Linked DNA regions of Homo sapiens: all the other regions are linked to region 1. The links are contacts of gene promoters, found by promoter capture Hi-C in blood cells and fetal thymus (Javierre and others, 2016). All regions are on one chromosome and are shown on one strand. Each heading gives the region's core, a stretch centred on a gene start or on the middle of the fragment in contact. The rest is flanking DNA. Distances are from core to core; before and after follow the strand shown. Region 1 holds the start of CSHL1 (chorionic somatomammotropin hormone like 1). Region 2 has its middle 39 kb from the start of TEX2. Region 3 has its middle 3.4 kb from the start of TEX2. Region 4 overlaps TEX2 (testis expressed 2). Region 5 overlaps TEX2 (testis expressed 2).

Region 1 (2,640 bases), core at 79-2,578:
GGAGAGACCAAGCGCTTGGGCACTGTTCCCTCCCTCTCTCATTTATCCATTTTCCTCCTTCCCCTTCAGGGTGTAGAGAAAGGCCTGGAGGATTCACGAGGGGAAATGAAGAATAAGGTGAGTTCTCTTGGGTCAGCGCCTGACTGCTGAAAAGAGGGCAGCAGTGTTTCTCTCCCCCAGCCCTCGAAGCCAGTGGGCTTCCAGGATTGGGGACCCCTGGTGCCACCCTCACCCCCATCAGCATTTGGATGCCTTCCTCTAGGTCCTTTAGGAGGTGATAGTCATCGCTGTCCGAGGTGTCATACACCAGGTTGTTGGTGAAGGTACTCCTGAGGAACCGCACGGGCTCCAGCCGCGACTCGATGAGCAGCAGGGAGATGTGGAGCAGCTCTAAGTTCTGCAGGGGAAGGACCGGCAGTGGCTGTGCTGCCCGGGGGCTCTGACCACAGGTCTCCCCCATCCCCGCCTAGGGGAGACAGCATCCACTCACGGATTTCTGCTGCGTTTCCTCCATGTTGGAGGATGTCGGAATAGAGTCTGAGAAGCAGAAGGAGGTCTGGGAGTCATGCAGGAATGAATACTTCTGTTCCTTTGTGATATAGGCTTCTTCCTAGGGGAAGGACCCCCCACCAAGAAGGACCACTGCTTTCTATGCTGGAGACCAGCTCCCACTGTTACTCTTCTGGGAACCTGGCTCAGCCTATGCTCATCTGCCTGCATTTTCGCTTCAGAAAACAACCCTGAGCTCCTTAGTCTCCTCCCATTACTTCCCCAGTGGGGGAAAGTCACCCCTTCTTGCCACCCCTGACCCGCACCCATTCCCCAAGAGCTTATAAACTCCTGGTAGGTGTCAATGGCCAGCTGGTGTGCGCGATGGGCTTGGAGCATAGCCTCTTTAAAAAGCCTGGATAAGGGAACGGTTTGGACGGCACCAGCCTCTTGAAGCCAGGGCAGGCAGAGCAGGGCAAAAGCCAGGAGCAGGGACGTCCGGGAGCCTGGGGAGAAACCGGAGGGCAAGAAGGGAGCCGCAGAGCAAGAGGCCAGCACTCTCCCTGTTCCAGGAGCTGTTTTCTTTTTCTCTCTCTCCATCCCTCCAGGGACCAGGAACATTCAGAGATTGGCCAAATATCTGGCCTTAGATGGCGATATTCACATTCAGAAGCCCCAAACCTGAGGTTAGTGCCCCCGTCCCATCTGCAGGGCGCCGCCTCTCCCCTCAGGACACGTTGTGCCCAAAGGGATTTTAGGGGCGCTTACCTGCAGCCATTGCCGCTAGGTGAGCTGTCCACAGGACCCTGAGTGGTGCGGGGAGTCGGGCCTTGGGATGCTGGAGCTGGTCTCTTGTGGGCCCTTTTTATACCCTGGCCCCTTCTCTCTCGCTGTTGCCCCCACCTGTTTCTGTGCACATTTATGCATGGGGCCACTGACGGGCTTGTGCTAATGGATAATTTGGAAGCTCCTCCCACACATGCTGGCATCATGTCCCCTGGCTTGTCATCTTTCCCTTCCCACCGTCACCAGCGTTGTGAGGGTTGTGCACAGAGTGTCAACCACAGACACCACCCAACTTGTCCTCTCTTTAAGGTTCAGGTGGGTGCCCTCTGGCAGCAGGCCATGGTGGCCAACCTGAATGCGGAGAAGGATGTCAGGATAGCCAGTCCTTGAGACCCCTATCGACCACATCCCACTCTCTATCCTATTCCTTTCCTCCTCCCCGCATGTTTAACCTCCACCCACCAGACAGAATGTGTGTGTTGGGAAAAGGGGCCAAGCACAGCCAATAGATTGTGGGGGTTGTGAGCATGATTCAGTCCTGAATTCCACTTCTGCTGACGACTCCTGGGCCCACCTGAGTCAGCTGGATGCAGTGCTAACACTGACCACTAGAGGGAACCAACCCCACACTTTGATCTCCCCTTTCCCTGAGCCTTGGGGCGGGGCGGAGGGAGGGGGTTGGGTGGGGGGCTCCCCCAGGTCACTGGGGACGAAGAACTCAGACTCTCAAGGTATTGCCCCAGCTCCCTGGACCTGCAGCAGAGACACAAACCAAGAAACCGAAATCCCGGGAACAGACACGGACCACAAGCGCTTCCTCCCATAGCCCTGAAACCATCAGAGAATCTCAAAGTTGGAAGAGCTCTTGAAGATTTGAATCTCTTCCCCAGCTTTGGAACTCAAAACACATCACGCCGAAAGATGCCCTATCCATCCATGGAAGCCCGTCCTCTTTTTTCTCCTCCTCCTTTCCACACCTGTATAGAGCCTATCCAGTTGCGAAGGGCCTGCCTGTGCATTCTCACGTCTGACCTGCCACTTGTCTTGTGTAGGAGGTATGATTATCATCCCATTTCACATATCAGGAGACTGAGGCTCAGAGAGACTGATTGCATGAGCTACCTCAGCCAGGGCAGCAGATCTCCACAGCCTTGCTCTTCCCACTTTGTGTCATTTAAAGTCCTTTCTCCAGGCCGGGCACGGTGGCTCATGCCTGTAATCCCAGCACTTTGGGAGGCTGAGGTGGGTGGATCACTTGAGGTCAGGAGTTCAAGGCCAGACTAGCCAACATGGCAAAACACCAACTCTCTAGAAATACAAAAGTAGCTGTGTGTGGTGGCGCAAGCCTGTAATCCCAGTTACTCC
Region 2 (2,640 bases), core at 52-2,551, 390 kb after region 1:
GCCCACCGCACAGAATGTTGCCCGAAGCTCAATGTTCTTAGCTGTCATATTTCATGTTTTCACCCTTTCCTCCTCCATCCATCTCTGGCAAGCAAGGGCACCCTGGCAGAGTTTCTTGAAGTTTGCCTGGACAGTTCATTCCTGCCTTAGAATGGAAAAGGCCGCCGGGCGCAGTGGCTCACGCCTGTAATCCCAGCACTTTGGGAGGCTGAAGCGGGCGGATCACGAGGTCAGGAGATCGAGACCATCCTGGCTAACATGGTGAAATCCCGTCTCGACTAAAAATACAAAAAATTAGCCGGGCGTGGTGGCGGGCGCCTGTAGTCCCAGCTACTCGGGAGGCTGAGGCAGGAGAATGGCGTGAACCCGGGAGGCAGAGCTTGCAGTGAGCTGAGATCGTGCCACTGCGCTCCAGCCTGGGTGACAGAGCAAGACTCCGTCTAAAAAAAAAAAAAAAAAAAAGGAATGGAAAAGGCCATTATTACCTCCCCTGTGCTCCAGGATCTACAGTGTAGCTGGGAAAGAGAAGTTTCCAGGAGGGAAGACTGCCATGACCAAGTCCAAAGGAGGACAATGTTCATTCAAATGTTCAATATGCTCATCTTCTGACCCACAGCTACCGTTCTGGAAATCGATCCTAGAGAATACTTAGACATGTGCATAATGCTATTTGCAAGGACTTTCCCTACTGTTAGAAAACAAACAAACAAACAAAAACCTATTAACAGGCAACTGGTTAAATAAATGAGGGTCCTTCCATACTGTGGGATACCAGGCAGTTAAAAATAATGAGGCGAAACACCCAAAACGATAAGACAGACCTGTATAGACAATAAATAAATATCTGCTGTTAAATGAGAATAGCAGGCAGAGGAAAAATATCCCTGTACAAAACAATCCTGTTTATGTAAAAGGAAATAATTTATTCAATCAATATTCACTGAGGACCTACCACATGCCAGATACTGTGGATAAAAAGGCATGCCACACAGAGCCCCTGTCCTCATGTAACACACATAGCCAGGGTGGATAAATAAATAGAAAAAAGACTGAGGCTGGGCACAGAGGCTCATGCCTGTAATCCCACGACTTTGGGAGGCCGAGGCGGGTGGATCACCTGAGGTCAAGAGTTCGAGACCAGCCTGGCCAACATGGCGAAACCCCCGTCACTACTAAAAATACAAAAAATTAGCCGGGCGTAGTGGCGGGCGCCTGTAGTCCCAGCTACTTGGGAGGCTGAGGCAGGAGAATGGCGTGAACCCGGGAGGCGGAGCTTGCAGTGAGCCGAGATCCCGCCACTGCACTCCAGCCTGGGCAACAGAGCGAGACTCCGTCTCAAAAAAAAAAAAAAAAAAAAAAAAAAAAATTAGCCGGGCGTGGTGGTGGGCGCCTGTAAATCCAGCTACTCAGGAGGCTGAGGCAGGAGAACAGCTTGAACCCGAGAGGTGGAGACTGCAGTGAGCTGAGACCATGCCGTTGCACTCCAGCCTGGGCAACAATAGTGAAACTCCATCTAAAAAAAAAAAAAGAAAGGAAACACACACACACACCACACACCACACACACACACACACACACACACACACACACACACGGAAACTCACCATTCAACATTCCTTTGATTCCTGAAGAGCTTTGGTATTAAAGAGTTTCCCATGAAAGGTCTGGACAGTCTTAGAGAGGCCATGCTTAGTAGTGATTCTTGGCCCTGGCTAAACATTAGAATCACCTGGGCAGCTTTAAAAACCTCCCAGTGTCCAAATTCACCCCAGACCAATTAAATGAGAATGTTTGAGGATGGGACCCAGGCATCAGCTTTTTAAAGATCTCCAGGTGATTCTAATATGCAGCTAACATTTGTAAACCTCTGCTCTAAGTTGTTGGATAGCAGGGGAAGTGGGCTAGTTGTAAAACCTCTGTCAACCAGCTGTGTGATCATGGGCAAGTTGCTTGACCTCTCTGAACTTTATTTTCCCTGCTCTAAAATGGGATCATACCTTCTTCACATGATAGAATGAGGCTTATTGAGAACATTATCAGAAAGAGCTCAGTCAATTGTAAAGCATGATATAAATATAAGATAATATTTTATTCTCTGACTTGGTTATCAGCTCAGAAGTAATAGGTGGAGCTGGGGGTCAGGCAGAGCAATGTTGAGTTAATGGTTAACAGAGAGAAAATAAAAGAAGCTGATTGGCTGGAATAGGAATGGCAGAGAGAAGATCAAAGGGCCCCCTAAACCATTTGCACTAAGGCAGGATCTACCCCTGTAGGATTCCAGGGTGATGCTAATGCCTGAGATTACATCTTCATCTTATTCCTAAAGCTCTGTTATTTTCTGTCTTTTTTTTTTGAGACAGAGTCTTGCTCTGTCACCCAGGCTGGAGTGCAGTGGTGCAATCTTAGCTTGTTGCAATCTCCACCTCCTGGGTTCAAGCTATTCTTGTGCCTCAGCCTTCTGAGTTGCTGGAATTACAGGCGTGCACCACCATACTCAACTAATTTTTGTAATTTTAGTAGAGACAGGGTTTCACCATGTTGGCCAGGCTGGTCTTGAACTCCTGGCCTCAAGCGATCCACCTGCCTCGGCCTCCCAAAGTGCTGAGCCACTAAGCCGGGCCAAGCTCTGTTATTTTCTCA
Region 3 (2,640 bases), core at 78-2,577, 360 kb after region 1:
ATGTCCCAACAGAAGAGGTTTCCAGTTGTGGTTTTCTGGAAATGTGCAACAAAGGCAGTTACCAATGGAGACACAGCCTGAAGCTCTCCTTGGCCACATCTTCAGCCCCCTGCCTCAGGGAGAGAGAGAGAGAAAGGGTAGGGGCCCTGGAGCTGCCCCTTGCAAAGGTCCTTGGAAGCTGGCAATGTGCCTCTCAGAGTGCCCACCAACCTCCTTTCCCTACCAAGCTCCACGTAAGCATTAAATTAATTAATACACTACCAACCAGATCTCAAACTAGAAGCCAGTAAGATCCAGCATGAACACTTAGAAGGATCCCTTCTTTTTGAAATCTGAGGAATTTGGATGCATTGAAAAATAAATGAACATATCATAACACAATAATGTTTCCTACCTTTTTTTTTTTTTTTTTTTTTGAGATGGAGTCAGCCTCTGTCATGTTGCCCAGGCGGGAGTGCAGTGGCGTGACCTTGGCTCACTGCAACCCCCGCTCAGGAGGAGAGCCCAAGAGTTTGAGACCATGTTGTCCAGGCTGGTCTCAAACTCCTGGTTTCAAGCAATTCTCCTGCCTCAGCCTCCCTGAGTAGCTGGGACTACAGGCACACGCCACCACACCTGGCTAATTTTTTTTATTTTTATTTTTAGTAGATACAAGGTTTCACCATGTTGGCCAGGCTGGTCTTGAACTCTTGAGCTCAGGTGATCTGCCCACCTCAGCCTCGGCCTCCCAAAGTCCTGGGATTACAGGTGTGAGCCACTGCGCCTGGCCTGTTTCCTACCTATTAAGAGGTTACTATGTGCCAGGTACTATGCCAAGTCCCTGGAACATAGCAGTTCACTGAAACCTTACAGTAACTCTTTAGGGTAGATATGACCATTATTTTCTCCTTTTTATGGATGCAGAAACTGAAGTTCACAGATTAGTGATGTGTCCAGGATAGCAGGGCTAGTTGAAGGAAGAGCCAGCATTCATGACCGTAACCACCAGGCTTTTTTGAGATGGGGTCTTGCCATGTTGCCAGGGCTGGTCTCAAACTCCTGGGTGCAAGCGATCCTCTTGCCTCAACCTCTCCCAAACTGCTGAGATTACAGGCGTGAGCCACTGTGCCTGGCTCAAATCATGCTTAAAAGAGTGATTTTAGAGCTTGGCATCTGTGACTCATTGTAGTACCTCTGAAAAAGGTTAGGGATTGTGAGGCTAAATTCAGATATCAAGCAAGATTCCTTACTTTGTCCCCCAGATAGCTACTCTATATGTATAGCATGTACCAAGTGATCTAAATTTTTTCACCTAGAGTAGGATCTTAAGTCACAGAAATGCAAGCCCAAGCTAATACTCTCCCCTCTTTCTCTACCCCCAACCCCTCAACCCTCATGCCAGGCTCTCTTGAAACCCAGGTTTCAACTATCAGGTTAAGCCCACATAGGTTCTGATATACTTGAAAGATTCCCAATTATTGCATTTCAAGATAATCCCTATTTTCTCACCAATTTCTAAACAAACCAAAAAATGCTCTAAGATTTTATTTTTTGTTTTGAAACAGGGTCTTTCTCCGTCACCCAGGCTAGAGTGCACTGGCACACTCATGGCTCACTGCAGCCTTGACCTCCTGGGTTCCAGTGATCCTCCCACCTCAGCCTCCTGAGTAGCTGGGACTACAGGCATGCGCCACCATGCCTGGCTAATTTCTTTCTACTTTTTGTAGAGATGAGGTCTTGCTGTGTTGTCCCAGGCTGGTCATGAACCCTTGGGCTCAAATGATCCTCCTGCCTCGGTATCCCAAAGTGCTGGGATTAGGCATGAGCCAGTATGCCCAGCCTAAGATTTTTAATTCTGTTTTTGACATTGCATTCTTGGAGACAGAAATGGTTAAGAAGTACAGAAAACCAAAAAGTTGATCCACTTGTATATCTAACAAAGATTAGGGATCATCATGCCACAAGCCACACCATTAATGAGCAATCACTGTGCACTCAGTACCAGGTGGCGGGCTGAGTACTGGGGATAGAGATGAAGGCACTTGTAGATGCTAGATCTAGTAGAGAAACTGACACGTTGATAGACCATTATAGGCTTCCTTAGAGGGAAGCCCAGGAGCCGTGGGGACACAGAATAGGCACTTAGAACCCTTGGGGAACCCAATAATGTTTTTAGGGGTGGCCAGATGAAGTTCATTATGAAGAGAAGCCAGAAAGTTTACAAAAACCCAAGTAAGAGTCACCAAACCCAAGGGAGAAGAGATTGAAAGAGAGAGCAGTCAACAGCAACAGATGCCACAGAATGGTCAAATTAGAAGAGGCCTGAAAGTATGCTCTGGGATTTCGAAATTAGAAGATTAGGGTCATTGACACATGCAGCATAGATGTGGCTGGAAATGTAGAGGCTCCCTAGAGCTGGGCTGAGGAGAAGAGCTAAGAAAAAAGAAGAATCGGCCAGGTGCAGTGGCTCACGCCTGTAACCCCAACACTTTGGGAGGCCGAGGTGGGTGGATCACTTGAGGTCAGGAGTTAGAGACCAGCCTGGCCGACATGGTAAAACCCTGTCTCTACTAAAAATACAAAAATTAGCCAGACGTGGTGGTGCATGCCTGTAATCCCAGCTACTCGGGAGGCTGAAGCAGGAGAATCGCTTGAACCCGG
Region 4 (2,640 bases), core at 71-2,570, 290 kb after region 1:
ATTAATCCTCCCACCTCAGCCTCCCAAGTAGCAAGGGCTACAGATACGTGTCACTACACCAAGCTAATTTTTTTAAAAAGATCTTTGTAGAAATGGAGTCTTGCTATGTTGCCCAAGCTGGTCTTGAACTCTTGGTCTCAAGCAGTTCTCCCACCTTGGCCTCCCAAAGTGCTGGGATTACATGCATGAACTACCACACCCATCCTCTAACAAGCTTTTAATACTATTAATTTCCCTCTAGGCACTGTATTACCTGCAATTTCTGATAGGTTGTATTTTCAGTTTCCTTCAGTTAAAAATATTTTCTATTTTCCCTTATGACTTTATCTTTAGGCCCACAGGCTGTTTAGAAGTATTTTGCTTAATTTCCAAATATTTGAGAAATTTTCAGATATCTCTCTTACTGGTTTTTAGTGTAATTTCATAATAGGAAACAGGCTTTGTATAATTTCAATTCTTTTAAGCTTGTTATATGGTCTATCTTGGTTCCAAGTGCAGTTAAAAAAAATGCATTCTGCTGTTGAGTAGGGTTTTCTATAAATATATTTATTTGTCTTTTTAAGCACAACCATTTTCACCAAAGATCTCCTGACACAGAACACACAGCTTTCTTCTTATTCAATTTGGTTGCAGAAAATACTGTCTTACATATATAACAGGTTTACCAGGGCTAAAGTTCTAAAGGCAACTAGATTAATAAAGAACTTGAAGCAGATATAATCGTTTTTCTAAGATACTTCAGAGGTTGTTTATGCTTGCAGAGCTACTAAAACCAAGAAGAATCCATGAAGGGCGGGGGGAAGTTGGAGCTGATGAGAACTCTATTAGATCAAAACAGCCACTTGTTATCAGTGTCATTTATGAGCCATTTGGCCATACAGTCCCTGCATGCAATTGCTCTTCTTGAATCATTTCACTCTGAGCACACATCTGCTGGCTAGAGTAGAGGCTACTTGAGAATATGGATTATGTGTGATACTGCCTTCGTCCATCCTAATACCTAAGCTGAGATGCTCAGCATTTATTTAATGGCTGTTTTTGAATTATGATAATCACAATTTGATATAAGATAGACATTACTGCGACAAATCACCATATAAAATATTTTTCGTTATTTCCAGGTACATAGAATTACAGATACATGTACAAAAGCCAGTAGAATTAACATGATACTGGCACCAAATGAGAAAAAAAGGATTAACATGATACTGGAATTTCAGACAAAAATCCCTGCATTATGTTTATCAACCACTCACCACCAGACTAGAAGGGCTAAAGGAGAAAAAAAAGACAAGTATTATATTACATGAAACTGTTCTCCAAGAAAAGGACAGTCTCTGAGAAATAGAGTAAAGTAAGCTGTGGGGATTTTTCCCATTTGAAACTGCTGGGATTGTACAGGTTAATTATCTGATTTATGAATAAGAGAAACTTAGGGATAAAAGTTGTTTCTCTCCAATTGCTTTCATTTCGTCTTTCCTAAATCAGAAAATGCAGACTTGTCCAGGGAGGTGCTGTACAATGGAAATATTAATATAATGTGAGCCATAAATGTGATCATGAAAATATGTAATTTTATTTTTACTTTATTTTTTTGAGATGGAGTCTCGCTCTGTTGCCCAGGCTGGAGTGCAGTGGCGTTACCTTGGCTCACTGCAACCTGCACCTCCTGGGTTCAAGCAATTCTCCTGCCTCAGTCTCCTGAATAGCTGGGATTACAGGTGTGTGCCACCACGCCCGGCTAATTTTCGTATTTTTAGTAGAGATGGAGTTTCACCATGTTGGCCAGGCTGGTCTCAAACTCCTGACCTCAAGTGATCCACCCACCTTGGCCTCCCAAAGTGCTGGGATTACAGGCGTGAGCCACTGCGCCTTGCTGAAAATGTGTAATTTTAAATGGTCTAAGAGCCACATTAAGAAAGAAAAAGCAGGTAAAATTAATTTAAACAATGTATTTTATTTAAATTCATATCAAAATTATGATTTCAACATGTAATCAATATTAAAAATTATTACTGGTATTTTACATTCTGTTTCATACCAAGTCTTCAGAATCCAGTGCGTACTTTACGCTTAGAACACATCTTGATTCCAACTAGCTACACTTCAAGGGCTCAACAGCCACATAGGGCTCAGGACTAGTATATAAGAGACAGTTCAGGGCCAGTTATTGGGTTCAAGCTTTTTAGCCCTAGACCCTTGGCTCAACTATGAATAGAATGGGCAAAGCCTTCCTTTCTCTTCTTGTGCATGCTTTCAACACACTCAGTCTTAGTGATAAGAGACAGTCATTCAGTACATGGCAGTTTTCTGCCATTTTATTAGATGCTTTGCATAATTAAATGAGAGAAGATAATCTAAGTAATCACCTAATGAAATCTATTGTAGAAATTCAAAATCCCTTTTAAAAGTTAACCTGCAATATTAAAAACTCAGAAATATTAATAAGAGTATTCTATGTAGGAGGCTTTTGAAAAACTCATAGTTCTATAGGAAAATTAAGATAATTAATAGACAAACATATCATTTTTTTAGCTTATTCTTTTGATTTTTAGACTTAGAAAACAAAACAAGACATACAGGCATGTGTGTTGAGATACATACACCAGCTCATCTGTTCACAGGTCAGTTTCAGGTGCT
Region 5 (2,640 bases), core at 99-2,598, 270 kb after region 1:
ATTTTCCTGTGCTGAGGTCTCTAATTAGACTGTAGCCTTGCAGAAACAATGAGCTTTGGAAAGCAAAGATGAAAAGATTTAGAAATGCAGAATCTGTGAATTATTCCCCCTTTCCCCTCCCTCTATGGCTACTATAAGTGCATCTGTTCTGCCCTCATGGGCTGGCTGCAGCTATAACACACACCAGACACTCTCATCACCTCCACGCTTTGTGCTTGTGCATTCGTGCCAGTGCTATCCATTCTGAGCAGCTGTGACTGTGCCCACATTGAAGCTGTGTGCCTGGGTCAGTGCTGTGGTGCACACGTTGTTGCTTGGTGTGTATGGATTTGAATCTGCAGATCCAATTGTTTGTGAGTACTCCCAAGGTCTACAGCACATAGCTCCGTGCACTCATTCTGAAGCTTGGTGTTCACCAGTCACTGAGCTGTGCCTGAGCCAGCACACTGCTCAGTCCCACCCGTCTGCCAGTCTTGCTGAGAGGTGAGGCCAGCTAGACTTCCTGGGTGGAGTGGGGACTTGGAGAAATTTTCTTACAAGAGGATTGTAAAATGCACCAATCAGCACTCTGTAAAAATGTACCAATCAGCACTCTGTAGCTAGCAAAAGGATTGTAAAATGCACCAATCAGTGCCCTATAAAACGCACCAATCAGCGCTCTGTAAAATGTACCAATCAGCACTCTGTAAAATGCACCAATCAGCAGGATCCTAAAAGTAGCCAATCGCAGAGAGGATTGAAAAAAGGGCATTGTGATAGGACAAAAACAGAACATGGGAAGGGACAATAAGGGAATAAAAGCTGGCCACCCTAGCCAGCAGCAGCGGCAACCTGCTTGGGTGCCCTTACACAGTGTGGAAGCTTTGTACTTTTGCTCTTCACAATAAACCTTCCTACTACTCACTCTTTGGGTCCGTGCCACCTTTAAGAGCTGTAACACTCACCATGAAGGTCCGAGACTTCATTCTTGAAGTCAGTGAGACCACGAACCCACCAGCAGGAACCAACTCCACATACATTGCCACAGCCTGTGCCCTCTCTTGCTGGGGGCCTAGGGTTCGCTTACGTTTTTCAATCACATGTCACTGCATGACTTTATATTTTACAGGAGTCCTTCACATTTGAGTTTTCAAAGGTCTCCTTTATGAACGTTGGTGAGTCTCATTTAAAAAAAAAAATGGTTTAAAAAAGAAAGCATGCTGGTCAGCCCATTTCAGAAGACATGGATCTGCTTCACCCTTCTTAATGGACATGGATTATTCTCTCTGGGCTTTTCGAGTGCTGTGACGTTTTCTGTCATTAACCAAGACATTTTCCACCACTAGGTCCTGGATGGAAGGGCAAGAGTCTGCAGCGGTGAATGCTTGGCCATGCCATAACTTGCACTGTTTTTTTGAATCCCTTTTTTCTCTGACTGAACATCTCCTTCCCAGCCCCAAGGGTAATTCATTCAGCTTTTCTGAGGTTACTGTCTTTGAGTCCCATCCGATTATTTATACAGACTTCTGCATAAACACTCATCCAAGGGCAATGACCACCTGGCCCCTCAGACAGTACTAAGTTGCTGCCCACGTAAGACACCACGTGTCTTATTTTAGATTTGTAGGTTATACAAGAGAATAAGTTACTTTTTCCCTTCCCTAGAGGGAGCATCTACCCTTTATTAGCCTTTCTTTACAACCCTAGTTACTCACAGGAAACAGTTTTAGCACAAAATAGCAAGAAACAAAGGCTATTTCACAATGTATGTCCAAGCCAATGGCATATGATGTGGTAAACAAATTTCTGAAATAACCGACAAGCAGGTTGTTTTTTCAACAGTTCCTTTTTCCAAAATAAGCTTCTCTCCACAGACTCATTGGGAACAAAGAAAAATTCCAGAGCAGAACATCGATAATGCATCAAAGAAGCTTTTATGAGCAAAACCTGGATTCAACAGCCTGCTAGGAAGGCCCAACGAATGTCATAAAAATTTAAGAGTTTAAAGAAACAATGTGCATACATTTCCTAATATTGCCATTTGGCTATAGGATGAAATGTGTGGAGGATATTCATTTCGCTGTCTCAACTGTATAAACACACTAAGAAATGGTAACTTTCCAAAAATGGCTTCCAAATAAGTGTAGAGAAAATTCAATGGTTTGAAGCTGAAGCAAGCCCATCAAAACTGCGTCACTCTTGGGATATGTGTTATTTAAAACTAACCTCTAAAACTAAAGTAGGACAGATTTACTGAAGTCTGTGGTGTAACATTTCCTATTACAAATGGCCAGGAGGCCAGCCCAGTTTTTCTATTACAAAGAGTGTGTAGTGCCCCCACTCCTTTTTGGCCGCACCCAGTGTACCGCCAGGGGGGTTGCACAAGGGACAGTGTGGTCCAGGAGATGACACAGCGGAGGACCCTACTCCTGTGTGTTTCTTTCCCTTGATTATAAAAACAATGCATATTCACTGCAGAAAACACCCATAAACCTGCTACTCAGATTTAAAACATTTTAAACATTATTTAAAACAGTTTTACTATATTTTCTTTCAGTCTCTTTTCAGTGTATATATACATTTAAGAATACAGAACTTTTAAAAAGCAAAATTAGGCCGGGCGTGGTGGTTCATGCCTGTAATCCCAGCACTTTGGGAGGC

The links. Contacts are between HindIII fragments. The CHiCAGO score rates a contact against its expected background, and 5 or more counts as called.
Region 2: a contact is called between a fragment that was not itself captured here and the fragment with the promoter of CSHL1 in region 1, in 2 of 17 cell types (M2 macrophages and naive CD8 T cells). The highest score is 5.4, in M2 macrophages.
Region 3: a contact is called between a fragment that was not itself captured here and the fragment with the promoter of CSHL1 in region 1, in 2 of 17 cell types (endothelial precursors and naive CD8 T cells). The highest score is 6.0, in endothelial precursors.
Region 4: a contact is called between a fragment that was not itself captured here and the fragment with the promoter of CSHL1 in region 1, in 2 of 17 cell types (activated CD4 T cells and naive CD8 T cells). The highest score is 5.3, in activated CD4 T cells.
Region 5: a fragment that was not itself captured here is called in contact with the fragment with the promoter of CSHL1 in region 1 in 1 of 17 cell types (activated CD4 T cells); the score reaches 5.2 in activated CD4 T cells.

The regions. Positions count from the first base shown.
Region 1 is chr17:63,909,930-63,912,569 of GRCh38, forward strand. CSHL1 (chorionic somatomammotropin hormone like 1) reads right to left here and starts at 1,329. Exons shown (of 5, transcript NM_022579.3): 1 at 1,258-1,329; 2 at 816-995; 3 at 491-606; 4 at 233-397. The coding sequence starts at 1,267. It overlaps LOC112268204 (a long non-coding RNA gene), which reads left to right and starts at 1,991. Exons shown (of 3, transcript XR_002958148.2): 1 at 1,991-2,330. The HindIII fragment of the contact is 23,854 bases long and covers 1-2,640 here.
Region 2 is chr17:64,300,760-64,303,399 of GRCh38, forward strand. No RefSeq gene overlaps it. Among named protein-coding and RNA genes, the nearest start is that of TEX2, 39 kb to the left of the region's middle. The HindIII fragment of the contact is 2,881 bases long and covers 1-2,640 here.
Region 3 is chr17:64,265,337-64,267,976 of GRCh38, forward strand. No RefSeq gene overlaps it. Among named protein-coding and RNA genes, the nearest start is that of TEX2, 3.4 kb to the left of the region's middle. The HindIII fragment of the contact is 6,256 bases long and covers 1-2,640 here.
Region 4 is chr17:64,197,659-64,200,298 of GRCh38, forward strand. All of the region lies in intron 2 of TEX2 (testis expressed 2), which reads right to left. Among named protein-coding and RNA genes, the nearest start is that of SNORA50C, 53 kb to the left of the region's middle. The HindIII fragment of the contact is 1,717 bases long and covers 463-2,179 here.
Region 5 is chr17:64,178,603-64,181,242 of GRCh38, forward strand. All of the region lies in intron 5 of TEX2 (testis expressed 2), which reads right to left. Among named protein-coding and RNA genes, the nearest start is that of SNORA50C, 34 kb to the left of the region's middle. The HindIII fragment of the contact is 979 bases long and covers 860-1,838 here.